Linked DNA regions of Homo sapiens: region 2 is linked to region 1. The links are contacts of gene promoters, found by promoter capture Hi-C in blood cells and fetal thymus (Javierre and others, 2016). All regions are on one chromosome and are shown on one strand. Each heading gives the region's core, a stretch centred on a gene start or on the middle of the fragment in contact. The rest is flanking DNA. Distances are from core to core; before and after follow the strand shown. Region 1 holds the start of GOLIM4 (golgi integral membrane protein 4). Region 2 has its middle 9.9 kb from the start of ACTRT3.

Evidence for each region. Contacts are between HindIII fragments. The CHiCAGO score rates a contact against its expected background, and 5 or more counts as called.
Region 2: a contact is called between a fragment that was not itself captured here and the fragment with the promoter of GOLIM4 in region 1, in 1 of 17 cell types (erythroblasts). The highest score is 5.1, in erythroblasts.

Annotation. Positions count from the first base shown.
Region 1 is chr3:168,094,039-168,097,486 of GRCh38, reverse strand. GOLIM4 (golgi integral membrane protein 4) reads left to right here and starts at 1,563. Exons shown (of 16, transcript NM_014498.5): 1 at 1,563-2,388. The coding sequence starts at 2,202. RefSeq lists enhancers at 788-837, 1,035-1,536 and silencers at 1,208-1,447, 1,738-1,787. The HindIII fragment of the contact is 7,495 bases long and covers 1-3,375 here.
Region 2 is chr3:169,757,962-169,761,409 of GRCh38, reverse strand. No RefSeq gene overlaps it. Among named protein-coding and RNA genes, the nearest start is that of ACTRT3, 9.9 kb to the left of the region's middle. The HindIII fragment of the contact is 1,828 bases long and covers 848-2,675 here.

The DNA.
Region 1 (3,448 bases), core at 314-2,813:
GTTTAATAGAATGAGAACATTGTTTCTATTGAAGAAAAAGACATAGAGCAGGGTTTGGATCTGGATTCTAATCTTGCTGAGTAACTAACTTTATGCAAGACCTAAAAGGTCCTAGAGCTGTCATAGTCACTTTGATAAACTTTGGCTTCTTTACCAACATGAAAGTCTAACACCCTGGCTGTGATCAGTGAGACAGTGTATCTGCACACGAAAGCATTTTGAATAATTTAACGCAAGTTATTATTTATTAAGGAAAAGCACATGCAAGACACACTTTATTTTTACAGTGGTATAAATGCCACAGGGTAGCATCGTTATAAATTCAGTTTATTTTAGGGCTTTAGCAACCTATAATTTCAGAGTCCACCTAAAAAAACTTTTGCACCAGGAACTGTCTTTCTGTTGCATTTAGCTAAAGAGATTTACCCCCATTTTGAGCACTCAGGCCCATTAGCAATGGTAACGACTAAAGTCCAGTTAGAATATAAAAATTATGCAGTGTATCATAAATTACACCACACTATACAGACAGATAAAATTTACTTTTCTTAGAATTCAGGTCAACAGCAGAAACAAAAATTATCATTTGTGCATAACCTTAATTATTCCCCTCAAGTACACAGAAAAAATAAATGCAGTATACATTTCTTCGAAGAGGTTTGTGGTTACTACCTTTCCTGTGCTGTACTAGTTTTTACATAGGGAACCTTTGTTGCCCTTTAAAATGTAATTTAGAAATGTAACTGATGTGTTTTGCCACCAATAAAACAAATACATATGACAAAATGAATGGATACTCATTTCAGTCTGTACGATTTGTTTTTAAATTATTCTATTTGCAGCTAGAGGAGAAATGTGAGACCATTTCTTTCCTCTCTGCCAATGGCAAGCCGATTTCCCCAGCCCACGTGGACAATTGAACATTAAGTCTAGCGTGCTTCCAGTCTCCCGACTCCTGCCGGGCCATCTGTGGGCACACACACATCTAGGCTAGTACACTGGATGGGGTAAGGCAGTCGACATGGCATCTCTGGTTTGACTACCGGGATTGTGCTATGTAGCTATCCCATGTGTCTGCCGCATCAGTTTATTGGACAGGGAAAGAAAGTGTACTCAGCAGAGTGCACACAGTTACTGCCATCCATTCTTTCGTTCATACACACATTTTACTCCGCTCTCCACGTGCGTTCCGAACGAGAACTGGAACACACACACACACACACACACACACACACACGTGTTCACCGAACCTCACCCAGACTCAGGCCCGGACAAGTCCCCCGCCCACCCAAAGCTCCCCGCCCTTCGCCCTTCCGCCTGCCTCTTCCCACCCTCTCCGACTCCACGTGGGCGCACCCCGGCGCCAGGCGGCCGCGCTGCCCACAGAGCCCCTAGCCGGCCCCGGCACTGGGAGGGAAGGTGCGGCCCTGGGGTCGGACGGACAAAGCCGGCATCCAATCGAGCCCGGCACTGCCTCCCCGAAGGGAGGGAGCGTCTGCTCGGACGGGCCCAATGAGCAAGGAGGCCGAGTGGGACTTCCTCCCGGAATCCCGTTGGCCAGAATAGCCGGGCCGTGGGTGACACGTAAGTTGGGCAGGAGGTGGCGGGGCGGCAGAGGCACCAGCCGACCCGTCAGTGACACCGCTGTGCCGTCCCCAAAACCAGCCGAGACAGCTGGCCCCCACCCTTCCACCCATTGGGCAGGCCGCACGGGGGCGCGGCCCGGAGTCCTGGTCCCTTTGTTGGGCGCGCACCCCCTCCCTTAGGTGGCAACAAAGTCGTGCAGTGGGAGCCGCCGCGATAGGGCGGGGAGTGGCCAGGGCGGGACTCCAAGAACTGCCCGGGGGCAGCGGGGCCAAAAAGTGGGAAGAAGGAAAAAAGGCAGGAGGCATCTGGGGACAGGCGCGAGGGCAGCCGGCTCTGAAGTATGCGGAGGGCCTCCTCCCGGCCCCGGGCATTCGCGGAGAACGAGCCTCGCAGAAGTTTGGCTGCAGCTGCCCGGGCGGCGTCGATGGCTGCGCGCCCCGCGCCGCGCGGGGGCTGAGCGGGCGCCACTTCCCCTCCGGGCCGGCTTTTGTGTCTGGCATCTCCTCCTCATGCTGCGTCTGGCCACCTACTGCGGCGGCCGCTGCTGAGACGCTCGCTCGGACCAAGGGGAGGAGACGGCGGGGGCGGCCGCGGCTTTGGGTCCAGGCGGGACTATGGGAAACGGGATGTGCTCCCGAAAGCAGAAGCGGATTTTCCAGACGCTGCTGCTGCTGACCGTCGTGTTCGGCTTTCTCTACGGCGCGATGCTCTACTACGAGCTGCAGACGCAGCTGCGGAAAGCCGAGGCGGTGGCGCTCAAGTACCAGCAGCACCAGGAGTCCCTCTCCGCCCAGTTACAAGGTACGGCTAACGGGACGCGCGCAGCCGGTGGCCAACTTTGCCCCGCGCCTCCACCCGGGCAGGAAAAGTGGCTTTGGTGAGCTATTGGCACTGTGGTTGCCACCTCTGACCTTCAGGGACGTCAGAGGTGAGCGTTTCAGGACTGCCGGCACCAGAGTGTCAGGGGAGATGACATTCTCATCCTCCCGCTTCTTCCTCCCAGCGGTTAGGTTTAGAACTTCGTAGCACCAGCCCATCGTCCCGCTGGGCGTTTGGTGGGCGGGTGCACAGATAGTCCTTTACCCGAGCTCTTGTCAAAGGCCCAGCTGCAATCGGGGCAGGGAAACTGGTAGCCCTCCGCCGCTTCTGCCAGCCCTGCTCTGAGGAGCATTGTTCCGTGGATTCTAGGTATTTGCTTTCTTGTTGACTTTGTCAGTTGCTTAAAAAATGAAGAGTTTGGCAGAGATTTCTCAAACTGTGCTGTTTTTCAAGGGAAAATTAAGCCATGACCCAGCAGCTTAATTAAAGTCATGGCCCAGTCGAATGGAAGGAACCTAGATCTGGACCTGCTAGTTTCTTATTTCTTATTCTTTTAATTTAATAGGATGTCTTTAGAGATGCTGGATGTGTGGGAAAAGTCCACACTACATACCATTCACCATCCTGCAGTAGTTTATTTCTTTAAAAACAGGTTTACTTGTCTTCCTAAGTAGCTTTTACTTCATCACAGAGATGCATGTATGTTACAGTTAGCTTCGGGAAGCCAAAGAGGAGAAACACAGGTTTTCACTTTGCCATGCACAGCAAACCCAACTTGAGCAAGACCTGTAGAAGAACTTAAAGTTTCTATCCTATTTTAGAATCTAATTTAATGTAATTTTCACAAACATAATTTACTTTAAATGTAAATTCAGAATTTGAATTTGAATTTACTTTTAACGTAAATTCAAAGTCAGCACCATGTCCTCTTGTTAAGGACGTATCCTATACATATTTTTTTTGCAAGCTTTTACTTGTGGTTAGTTTTCAATACTTATGCAGCTTTCTCCCCAACCAAAAAATAATAATAAATAGCTGTAAG
Region 2 (3,448 bases), core at 512-3,011, 1.7 Mb before region 1:
AGGATGACATTGAGTTTTAATTCAGCTTGTCCTGGTTCTGCAGTCAAAAATTCCATGTTAGCCTGGCTCGAGACTTAAGAGACAAATAGATGGCACAGGCACAAGCGTGTGTACACATGCACCCACCGTCATACAAAGTGTAAGGGAGGAGTGGTTTTAAATAAGATGAGAATGAAGTGACAAAAGGTAACTGTCATTCCTTCATGTTCATTCTTTTAAGGTAATAATATGTGATGGAAGTAAAAACAGCGAAAATACCCAAGAATTAGCCCAGGATATGCAAATTTAAATGTCTGCAGTGGACAGAAAGGAAACAAAGAAGTGAATCACACTGGGAATAAGAAAATGGAGACTATAGAGATGGTAGGGAGAATGAGCTTCCCTTTTTAAGGAGGCAGCAATCTTACAGAAATTGAGCCTAAAATTGTCAGTATTGCAAGAGAAGACAAAAATTCAGATTTTTATGTCAACACCACTGATTATAGAATGTTGGTAGCTAAATTGAAATAAAATTTAAATATTATATAAGTGCATGGTAAAGAATTTGGATGGCTTTTGTTCCTGAACCCTGGGAAGTAGCCTCTAAACCCTTGGAATTCACCAAGAATGGTGGGAGTGTCTTTTCTTGGTAGGCCTCTTGGACTAGACCCAATAGTTTACACTAACGAGATGACTCATGACTGGGGGTTGGTCAGCCATGTGATTAGAGTGTTGGGGCTTTGGGCCCCATGATACTAGCCCGACCTCTTGAGAGACTTGGAGCCACATGTCTGAGCCTTATGACTAGTGATTCATCCAATCATGCCTGTAATGAAGCCCCAATAAAAACTCTGGACACACTGAAGCTTGGATGAACGTCCGTGGTTGGCAGTACTCAGTGTGCTAGGAGGAAAATGTGTCCCTGAGGACATGAGGAGAGGGACAATGGAACCTTCTTTCTGGGACCCTCCCAGACCTCACTCTATGTGTCTCTCCCTTTGGCTGGTTTTGATTTGAATCCTTTTGCTATAATAAAACCATAATAATAACTATAATAAACATCCTTTTGCTATGATAAAACTGTAATAAAACCGAAATAACACTTTCCTGAGTTCTCTAAGTCATTCTACTGAATTATGAAACTTGAAGGGGTAGTGGGAACCCCTAAATTTGTAGGCAGCTTGTCAGATGTAAGGATGGCCTGGGGACCTCCTAGCTTAGGTTGTTGATAGCTGAAGTCATTGCAATGCACCAATAAAAAAACGTTTTGAGATAAAATCTGGTCTATTATAGGCTATTAATTTGCGACCTTTGGCCTAGGCAAATTTAAGCATTCCTGAGTGCTTTCTCTAGAAGGGTGAGGGTTTGGACCATCCTACCAGTTTGAGGCCTACCCAAAATAAATGTATTTGAGAGGAGTTTACACTGGTGGTATCTGTTATAGGTTTCTGGGAATATCACTAAAGAGAAGTTTCAAAATTAAATTTTAATAATATTCTGAAAATAGTAGTGCTAATCCTTCACGTATAGGGGTTAGGGTATTTCTTCCAGTGGTTCTGCCTGAGGGGTGGGCCTGTTTTTCAGTGTCCATTCTGTCAGTCGTTATGGGATGTGAAGAGGGTTCCAAGGGTTCCACCATCACTAGGTGGAAATGAGGCAACTTTTCCCATATTTTTCCTTTACTCTGGTTTGTATCTCCCCTCCTAGGTAGGTATCAAAGTATATATGGTCTTCATTTGTGTTGCCTCAAATTCTCATTTCTTCCTTGATATAAAAAGGAAACAGGAAGACATTGAAATAAGGATATTATTGTGGTCCTGTACTTTTACCCTGTTCTAACCTAGCTGAGGGAATCTAGCATAAGTCACCCAACTTTACATTCCACATGTGTCAACCGGATGTACTAAGACTTCCCTTGAAGGGTGGTTGTGGGGAGAATATATGAGTAATATATATGACAGCAACTGGTATTATTAATGAGAGGAGAAGTCTGTCTTACTCTTTACTTTGCAAGTAATGATTTTACAGCGCTCTGATGGGTATGTTGTAGTTACTCTGGCAGGAAGTGGTTTTGACTTGGGTATATAGTTAAGAGATATATGGAGAAGGGTGGAAGTGCTAATGGTTTGTGAATTTTTAAAATAACACCAATTATGAACTTGATGCACACCTGCAGCTAGAATCTTTCTCTAGATGATGTTTGACTATCATTTTTTTTTTTTTTTTTGTCTTGGGGCTCTAGGTTTTCACTTTGGTGATATTTATGTGTGTACTATGGCTGTCTATATAAGTGTTAAAAGGCATAATTATAGTTATTAAAAACAATTTAAGGAAAACAGAAAAATGCAATAATGAAGAAATACAAATACTGACTTTTTTGTATGATCAATGAGGATATTATAACTAAAATGAAAAACATTATACATATCAGTTGCAAAAACAGTTACATTCCCCACAATCTTTTTAAAAAATGCGAGTAGTTTGCTAAAGTGAACTGGGTGACTTATTTTCAACCTTGGAAGAAAAACTCAATTAAAGCTACATTTGAACTGTAATGGCACCAAGGAGTTCAACTTGACCTCATATGCCAGATTATAATCATCTTTCAAGTGTACAAACAAGGAAGCATAGTTATCAAAGAATGAGAAATACGTTTGTTCAAAGACCATTTACTGCTTTAACAAGAGGTGAAAGCTTGCCAGAAATATATAAACACCTACCCCAGTGCTATTCATAGGCTTAACATGTTCAAAGACTTGGGGGCGGAGGGGGGGCAATTTAAAAATATCTTTGAAGTTGTGGGTATTCATCATCATATCTAATAATGCTTACTTTCTAGAGCCCCTCTCCAAGGAGGGCAAAGCAATTTATCTGACTTATTTTCATGACATCCTTGTGAGATAAGGCAACCACCATTATCTCCCTTCTGCAAATGGAGAAACTGAAACGTTGGGAGGTAAAATCACTTGAAGAAGGTCAGTAGCAGGCCTAAGAATGTAAATACACGCATTTTAGCTTTTAACTGCTATTTTACTTTACAGAAAACTAAACAAACAAAAAATAATTTTAAAAAAATCACATACTTTTTCATTCTCTTTTTAAGTTAAAGAATAATTACTCATCTATCAACTTTTCCTTGGTAAGGAAAACAGTTTAAATGGCTTTTCACAATAACTGGAATCTTATTATACTGGAATGAATGAACCACTTGCAAAGTTGTGATGTTCATTTAACAAACACTAAATACCTAGTCTGCAACATGTTGTATTGTTCAGGGTGTTGAGACTTCAAAGGTGAAACATATATTCCTCATCTTTAAAGGTCTTCCTGGAGAGAGAGATTCTATAAGCAAATTATATGGTGCAGTCTCATGTTATTTAAATTTACTAAATTCATCATTTTATCCCCCAAATCTATTTTTTCTTCCCTTTCCCCTTCCCGTAAATGCTACTGCTACACCCAGGAGCTA